Linked DNA regions of Homo sapiens: regions 2 and 3 are each linked to region 1. The links are contacts of gene promoters, found by promoter capture Hi-C in human tissues and cell types (Jung and others, 2019). All regions are on one chromosome and are shown on one strand. The core of a region is centred on a gene start or on the middle of the fragment in contact, and the rest is flanking DNA. Distances in the headings are between cores, read along the strand shown.

Region 1 (2,872 bases), core at 228-2,727:
CAGACTGGAGTGCAATGGTGGGATCTTGGCTCAATGGTGGGATCTCGGCTCACTGCAACATCCACCTCCCAGGTTCAAGCAATTCTCTGCCTCAGCCTCCCCAGTAGCTGAGATTACAGGTGCCCGCTACCATGCTCGGCTAATTTTTGTAGTTTTAGTAGAGACGGGGTTTCACCATGTTGCCCAGGCTGGTCACAAAGTCCTCACTTCAAGTGATCCGCCCACCTTGGCCTCCCACAGTGCTGGGATTACAGGCCTGAGCCACCGCACCCAGCCCTAAAATATTTTTAATTTTTTAAATAGAGACAGAGTTTCGGCTGGGCGCAGGGGCTCATGCCTATAATCCCAACACTTTGGGAGGCCGAGGCAGGCGGATCACCTGAGGTCTGGAGTTCGAGACAGCCTGGCATACACGGCAAAACCCCGTCTCTACTAAAAATACAAAAACTAGCCTGGCATGGTGGTATGCGCCTGTAGTCCCAGCTACTCGGGAGGCTGAGATAGGAATCGCTTGAACCTGGGAGGCAGAAGTTGCAGTGAGCCGAGATCGCGCCACTGCACTCCAGCCTGGGCAACAGATTGAGACTCTGTCTCAAGAAAAAAAAAAAAGGCCGGGCACGGTGGCTCATGCCTGTAATCCCAGCACTTTGGGAGGCCGAGGCGGGTGGATCACCTGAGGTCAGGAGTTCGAGACCAGCCTGACTAGCATGGTAAAACCCCGTCCCTACTCCTCCTCTACTCAAAATACAAAAATTAGCCGGATGTGGTGGTGCACGCCTGTAATCCCAGCTACTCGGGAGGCTGAGGCAGGAGAATCACTTGAACCTGGGAGACAGAGGTTGCAGTGAGCTGAGATTGCGCCACTACACTCCAGCCTGGGCGACAGAGCGAGACTCTGTCTCAAAAAAAAAAATAAATAAATAGAGACAGAGTCTCACTATGTTGTCCAGGTTGGTCTCAAACTCCTGGGCTCAAGCAATCTTCCTGCCTCAGCCTCCCAAAGTGCTGGAATTACAAGCGGGAGCCACCATGCCCAGCCTGTGTCCCTTCTTAGTTGAGGCTGGATTGGGAACATCAGTTGGTCCTCCCCGATTCGAGCACAGCTGAAAACCACCTCTAGAGGTGAGAACACCAGAGATGGGCCCAGGAGCAGAAAGATGGGTGATGGCTGGAAGGCCACCATGGATCTGCAGCCCCTGGCTGGTGGGCACAGCAGCAGGTACTGCCCAGGGTAGCCATCCCCTCCTCACCTGCAATGATGAACCAGTTCATGTAATTCAGGAGGTTGATGTAGCAGAGGACGGCGGCAGCCACGTAGGCCCTCCACGGGGGCAGGCTCCAGGAGGTGGGCGTGATGGGAGGGGGACACTGCCTGCCTGGCCCTGGGGACTGGCCCTGCAGACCTCCTGGCCCAGGCTCAGGGCACTCCGCTGACATCCCCCCAGCCATGCCAGCCTGCAGCTCTTGGCCTGAGACTGGCGCCAGGATGAAGCAACATTAGCTCAGCACGAAGTCACTTCCTGTGGGGTCCCAGGCTCCAAACCTCAAAGCACCTGCCCTAACTGTTGGGCGTCTTATCGCAGGTTCCTCCTGACCCCACGGCAGCTTCACCAGTGCGATTTCCCCATCGTCAGCCTCTGAGACCTGCTACGGAGGACAAGGGCTCCTGGCACCCCCACCCTGGGGACTGGACAACTCTGTGGTCCCCTTGATCTAGCCTGCAGCTTCAGTGGCTGCAGTGAGGAAGGGAAGCTTCCAGGGCAGGAAATGAGATGAGCCTCCCAGAGTGCTGCTTGCTGTGAGATGGTCTAGCTGCCCGTACGGGACTGTGAACCAATGCCTTGAAGCCGGGGCAAATGAGGAAGGCTGGGCATTGGCCAGGACAGCAGCATTGCACTCGACTGCCAGGCAGGATGAGCACCTACCCAGGATCTAAGGTCCTTCCCGGAAAAACAAAGGTAGCAGAGGGGGCTGCCTACAAGAAGACAGCCTGTGTGCAAAACTCATCAGTGGGGGCTAAATCTGGGGGGAAGACTTCAGTGAGGGGGGAGGGTGTCAGCACGGTCACGAAGCATCTCTTGATAGATTGCTTATTAGTAACAAAAGGAAAAAGAGTAACTATACAGTAGAGGAATCAGACATCTTGACCAAGGGGTTAAAATAAATCACCTGTGAGAGGCAGGAGGGTGTCGTGTGCCTCCAGATGTGAAGGTCTTCGCAGGTCACAGCATCATCTATGTGGCATTCCAGCCAGGAAGGCACAACCGGAATCTCATCATGAGAAGACATCAGCCAGACGCGGTGGCTCGCACCTGTAATCCTAACACTGGGAGGCCAAGACAGGAGGATCATCCAAGCCCAGAAGTTTGTGACCAGCCTGGGCAACATGGTGAAACCCCATTGCTACAAAAATACCAAAAAAATAAAAAATTTTAAAAAAAAATAGCCGGGTGTAGTGGTGTGCGTCCACAGTCCCAGCTACTTGGGAGGCTGAGGTAGGAAGGATCGCCTTAGCCTGGGAAGTCGAGGCTGCAGTGAGCCATGTTCGTGCCACTGCACTCCAGGCTGGGTGACAAAGCAAGACCCCAACTCAAAAAAAAAAATTTTTTTTTTAATTTTTAAAATGAAAAAACATCAGACAAGCCCAAATTGAGAAACACTATTTCTTTAAAGGGACTGTATATTGAAAAATGTCAGAGTCATGAAAGACTAAGAAAGACTGAGGGAGCTAGGCGTGGTGGCTCACGCTTGTTATCCCAGCACTTTGGGAGGCCGAGGCAGGTGGATCACCTGAGGTCGGGAGTTCAAGATCAGCCTGACCAATGTGGAGAAACCCCGTCTCTACTAAAAATACAAAACTAACTAGGCATGG
Region 2 (2,872 bases), core at 159-2,658, 220 kb after region 1:
CACTGCACTCCAGCCTGGCGACAAAGGTAGACTCCGTCTCAAAAAAAAAAAAAAAAAAAGTGTGTTCTGCATTCTGCCCAGGTCTTTCTCATGACCTTCCTTCTTTCTTCTGCCATCACCCATTCCCATGGTCTTTTTCTACGTCTGTTACCTAAAGCCCATCTGTTAAGATTGGGAATTATCTGCTAGCTAGTTATGGTTAACAGTACTGAAATCCACTAATGTGGATTATTAAAATTAAGTGATTTCCTTTTGTGATTTTTCCTTAGTAAAGGAATTTCAGGTTTTAGAGACGAGAACGGCTAGTAGAGGGACCTCAAACTTCCGAGCATATTTACTACATACCTCAAGCTGTGCTGAGTGTAACTAGTTCTCCTCCATCTTGACAAACACACAAGTATTCCTCAAATATCTGAAGTAGAGTAACATCTTTATTTTATAGAGGAGGAGAGAGGGGCACAGAGAGCTCAAGTAATTTGGCCCCTAAAATGTAATGGGTCTCCACTCAGGTCTTTTTTACCTCATTGTTTATCTTGCTCTGTCCACCACATTCTGCCTTTGTGGTTAGAAAAGAGTTTTGGTGGAGGCTGCTGGCAGGGAAAACAATGGTGGATGTCAGGAAATCTCGTGAAACCATACTAGTCGTCTGTGACTGCCCTTGGAGGTGAACCTGATTTGGAGGGAGCAGTGGAGGCGAGGGAGGTGAAGGGCTGTTCCCTGGCCACCTTTTCCCCATGGGCCTGGTCTCATGGGAGACTCCCTAAGGCTTCCAGGAATTCTGGCATAGAGGAAGTGTGGTCTTTCCAATGCCATATCTTCCAGACTACAATGTGGTCCTGCTTTTGCTACCAGAGACCTATTTGCCTGCCTTCAGCTCTCTCTTCTCTGATGTAGTTGATGTTTTTTGTTTGTTTGTTTGTTTGTTTTTGTTTTGTTTTTTTTTTGAGACAGAGTCTCTGTCTGTCATCTAGGCAGGCGTACAGTGGTGCGATCACGGTTCACCGCAGCCTTGAACTCCTGGGCTCTTACCGCAGCCTTGAACTCCTGGGCTCTTACTTCAGCCTCCTGAGTAGCTGGGACTACAGGCACATGCTACCATGCCTGCCTAATTTCTCAATTGTTTTGGTAGAGACAGGGTCTTGCTGTGTTGCCCAGGCTGGTCTTGAACTCGTGGCCACAAGTACTCCTCCTGCCTTGGCCTCCCAGAGTGCTGGGATTACAGGTGTGAGCCTTTGCACCTGGCCGTGTTTCCTTATTAATGATTCTGAAAGAGTCTTGTTTTTATTATTATGCGGCTTTATGAGGACATCCATTGTAGCCAGTTTTTCTCTATTTTGGTGTACTGTGGTTTTGTTGTTACAGTAGAAATCTGATTTTTTTGGTGTGGGGGGTGTACTATGATTTGGCTATTTTTTCTAATTTTTTTTTTTTTTTGAGACGAGTCTTGCTCTGTCACCCAGGCTTGAGTGCAGTGGCACCGTCTCAGCTCACTGCAACCTCTGCCTCCCGGGTTCACGTGATTCTTGTGCCTCAGCCTCCCCAGTATCTGGGACTACAGGCAGCCCAGCTAATTTGTTTTTGTATTTGTAGTAAAGACGGGGTTTCGCTATGTTGCCCAGGCTGGTCACGACCTCCTGAGCTCAGGCAATCTGCCCGCCTTGGCTTCTGAAAGAGCTAGGATTATAGGTGTGAGCCACCACACCTGGCTGATTTGGCTGTTTTTTTCAAAACATTATAGATATTTTAGGTGAGTTTTTTCTTTTTTCTTTTTTTCTTTTTATTTTTTTTGTTGTTGTTGTTGATGGAGTCTCACTCCGCTGCCCAGGCTGGAGTGCAGTGGCGTAATCTCGGCTCACTGCAATCTCCGCCTCCTGGGTTCAAGCAATTCTCCTGTCTCAGCCTCCTGAGTAGCTGGGACTACAGGCGCCTGCCACCATGCCCGGCTAATTTTTGTATTTTTAGTAGAGACAGGGTTTCACCTTGTTGGTAAGGCTGGTCTCGAGCTCCTGACCTCAGTAGATCCTAGGTGGGGCTTTTAAAATACAGCTTTATTGAGTTATAATTCACATATCATACACATTCATCTTATAGGAGAGCTTTTTTTTTTTTTTTTTTTTTTTTGCGACAGAGTTTTGCCTTTGTCGCCCAGGCCGGAGTGCAATGGCACGATCTCAGCTCACTGCAACCTCCGCCTCCTGGGTTCAAGCGATTCTCCTGCCTCAGCCTCCCGAGTAGCTTGGATTACAGGCATGCGCCACCACAGCCGGCTAATTTTGTATTTTTAGTAGAGATGGGGTTCCTCCATGTTGGTCAGGCTGGTCTCGAACTCCCGACCTCAGGTGATCCACCCACCTCGGCCTCCCAAAGCGCTGGGATTACAGGCGTGAGCCACTGCACCCAGCCGGGAGAGCTTTTAAGGAGGTGTTAATTATTGAGCATAGAGCCTCGTATTTGAAACTATTTCTAAGACACACTGTTTGCATCATGCAGTTGTGGGAACTAAAGTGGTGTTCCACACAGTTAAATTTTCTTTGAAGGACAGAGGTTGATCCATTTTGTGCTTGATTCGACAATTACCTGTCTGTGTGATCAGCGGGTGTCGTATGTGTGCTGTTAAGGCAGTTGGGGTATTATGCTTAATCAGTTTATTTGCATGTTATTTTGATTCTGACCAGAATGGAGCAATGAAATATTATAATGAAATTCTAGTACTTTTTAAATATGGGAGACCAACTGTAATTTATTCATAACCCTTTGCTTAACCTTATCCCATAGTGTTATTAATAGGACATAGCCAGCCAGTACAAAGATGATCGCTTTGGTTTGTTCGTTTGTGAATTATTTGTCCAGTAATACTCCTCATGATGAATAC
Region 3 (2,872 bases), core at 112-2,611, 170 kb after region 1:
ACCAAAGATTTTAGCTCCTGATGCTCCTTTCCTTTCCTACCTCTAAATCCCAACATCTAATTTTCCTGCCTTCTCACTTCCACTTCAGCCACTCTATTCCGTGGCTCTGTCCTGGACTTTTTTTTTTTTTTTTTGAGACAGAGTCTCACTCTGTTGCCCAGGCTGGAGTGCAGTGGCACAATCTTGGCTCACTGCAACCTCTGCCTCCCGGGTTCAAGCGATTCTACTGCCCCAGCCTCCCGAGTAGCTGGGATTACAGGCATGCACCACCACGCCCGGCTAATTTCTGTATTTTTAGTAGAGACGGGGTTTCACCATGTTGGCCAGGCTGGTCTTGAGCTCTAGACTTCAGGTGATTCACCCTCCTCGGCCTCCCAAAGTGCTGGGATTACAGGCGTGAGCCACCACGCCCGGCCTGTCCTGGACTTTTCTCATCTCCTAGTGCTACTTCACTATGAACCTGTTTGCCACTTTAACCACCAAGCTCTCACAACATTGCCTGCACTGCACTGGCCTTCAATTATCAGAGACCTGCAGTTTCGTGGCTCCTCCATCAGTCCCTAGCCAGTCTGTATCCCACGTTTGATGGCCTGGGCTGTCGTCTCATAGCACCCTCAATTTATTTTGGGCAATGCAATCCCAAGCCCTGGATAAATGCTATAATTCAAAATATCTGCTACTGCAGCCTGGTGGCTGAGTTCTAGAAAAAAGTGATCCATCAACACATACATGAGGCACATGAAACCAGGCCTTCCAACTTCAGCGTCCTCTTCCAAAGTTTCTTTGCTCTTCTTGGTCTCCTTCCTTGTCTCATAACTTCACCCATAAAATCGATGTCATCAAACGATCTCCCTGATTTTCTTCCCCCCTATATATCTGCACGCATGTTCTTGTTTCCTACCGTTTTAGTGGAATAACAGGTGACCTGCCTCTAGTCTAAATTTAATCCGTTTTCCTGAGTTCTGCATCGCATGCAGAGCATCCTACCTCCCCAGGGACCTCTCCACTGACTCCTTTCTCCCAGCCTCTCCTTTCTTTACAAACCTAAGGACCAACAAACCCCCTCTCTCGACCCTCTCATTGCCAAGCTTCTCCAGAGTAGTCTGCATTCGTTGTGTCATCCTTTTCGGTGCCCTGCCAAGGACGTGGAATATGACAGGGCTCAGTCAGTGCTTAATAAATCTCGAGCCTCAAAAATACCCGGTAAAAAGAAACCCGGCTCTCCGCTTCCCCCAGAGTCCAGCAACCCCCTCCGCTTTCATTCACCCACTTTCCTACCCTCGGCTCCGCCTTTTGCCGCGCCTCCCGCGATTCTCGCGAGACTTGGTGATTCCGTTCCGCACCGCCCCGGTTGAGCCGCGCACTTCTCGCGAGGTTGCAGGCAGTGCCGGGCCAGACATGGCGGAAGGTAGGGTTTTTTTGTGGAGCCGCGCGGGAAGACACGGAGCTGTGGGGGCGCTGCTGGCCGTGCGAAGCTGCCGTGGGAGGGGAAGGCCGGGCGTGGTTGCATGGGGGCTCCGCGGGTCTCGCGAGCCTTCCTGTCTAGCCTCTCCGGAGCTTCTCGGGCCGGGGTCCGGAGCGCGGTTCCTATGACAACGTCCCTCCCGCGATGCCGACCCCGCGGGACTGCGGCCGGCTGCGGAGCCGGGCTGGCAGGTCCCGCGCCGGTGCTGCGTGCAGCCGCGGGGCCCCGAGGGCAGCACGGGAGGCTCTTGATTGCCGGCGGTGCCGGGACGCCGGGGGAAGTAAGCCTTCTCCTTAGGAAATCGAAACTGCTGTCCTGGCACGTTCTGCATCCGGAAGGGGTCCATCCCTCGCTTGCGGAAGAGCGTGGGTCTCCTCGGGCTGGGTTGGGGTGAGGTGGGGTGGGGTGGGGGCGAGGCAGCAGCGAGCTGGCCCACGCTTCAGGCGGGCGCACTGGCGGCTCCGGCTCTGCTGCAACCCCAGCCTTCAGGCCAGGCGTACAGATGAAGACGGGAGGAAGGGGTTTGCGGGAAGGGAGTTGGCCAAGGTCACACTGCTCACAAGAGGGCTGCTCAAACCAGACCTCTGTGCCTTTGCCTCCCCGTCCAGTGCCTACCCTCTGGTCTCGTGCACTTTTCATGACATTGCAGCTTAAGGCACTCTGGTCTCTCAGAGTCTGCCTGTCTTAATGTAGCAGTAATTAGAAGCCTTCATTGTCAAAGCCTTATTGTACACGTAGGGGGAAAGAAGGCCCAGAGACGGGGAGTTACCTGTCAGGAATCGTGCAGGGACATTGTTGGATCTGGGCAGCCTGGTTCTCCTCTTCACCCCATTATTGGAGAACAGTATTCCTTATTTGACCTTTGTTTATTGAGTGACTGCAGTGTGCTTGGCCACGACCTTTCCTGTTGGTTTTGAGCTTTGACTGAACCCATCACTTGATGGATCTTAGATTTGGGCAGCACCTGACAGTTGGTCGGCTTTTCTCATTTGCATTAGACTTCAGATAACCTCGTGAAGGAGGCCTGGCGTGTGTATTTGCCTTTATTGATAAAGGAATTTAGGCAAAGTTACAGAGATAGCTGTGACTGACACCCAGTTGGTTTTGGGGGGTGTGTGTGTGTGTTTTGAGATAGGGTCTCGCTCTGTCCCACCGGCTGGAGTACAGTGGCGCGGTCACGGCTCACTGTAGCTTCAGTCTCCTGGGCTCAAGCGATCCTTCTGCCTCAGCCTCCTGAGTAGCTGGGACCAGGGGCGCTCGCCACCACACCCGGCTAATTAAAAAGGGGTGTGTGTGTGTGTAGACAAGGTCTTGGCCCCGTGTGGTGGCTCGCGCTAGTAATTTCAGCACTTTGGGAGGCCGAGGTGGGAGGATCGCTTGAGGCCAGGAGTTCAAGAGCAGCCTGGG

What was found. The method cuts DNA at HindIII sites, captures the fragments that hold promoters and counts their contacts. A contact is called where the count stands out against the background at its distance.
Region 2: a fragment that was not itself captured here is called in contact with the fragment with the promoter of SPNS3 in region 1 in 1 of the 25 tissues and cell types used here (lymphoblastoid cells).
Region 3: a contact is called between the fragment with the promoter of ANKFY1 here and the fragment with the promoter of SPNS3 in region 1, in 1 of the 25 tissues and cell types used here (thymus).

What each region holds. Positions count from the first base shown.
Region 1 is chr17:4,432,545-4,435,416 of GRCh38, reverse strand. SPNS3 (SPNS lysolipid transporter 3, sphingosine-1-phosphate (putative)) reads right to left here and starts at 1,477. Exons shown (of 12, transcript NM_182538.5): 1 at 1,251-1,477. The coding sequence starts at 1,449. RefSeq lists an enhancer at 761-1,415. The HindIII fragment of the contact is 23,733 bases long and covers 1-2,872 here.
Region 2 is chr17:4,209,958-4,212,829 of GRCh38, reverse strand. The region is part of intron 4 of ANKFY1 (ankyrin repeat and FYVE domain containing 1); the gene reads left to right. Among named protein-coding and RNA genes, the nearest start is that of ANKFY1, 53 kb to the left of the region's middle. The HindIII fragment of the contact is 4,377 bases long and covers 1-2,872 here.
Region 3 is chr17:4,262,468-4,265,339 of GRCh38, reverse strand. It overlaps ANKFY1 (ankyrin repeat and FYVE domain containing 1), which reads left to right and starts at 1,361. Exons shown (of 25, transcript NM_001330063.2): 1 at 1,361-1,408. The coding sequence starts at 1,399. RefSeq lists an enhancer at 1,175-1,264 and a silencer at 1,915-2,064. The HindIII fragment of the contact is 4,200 bases long and covers 237-2,872 here.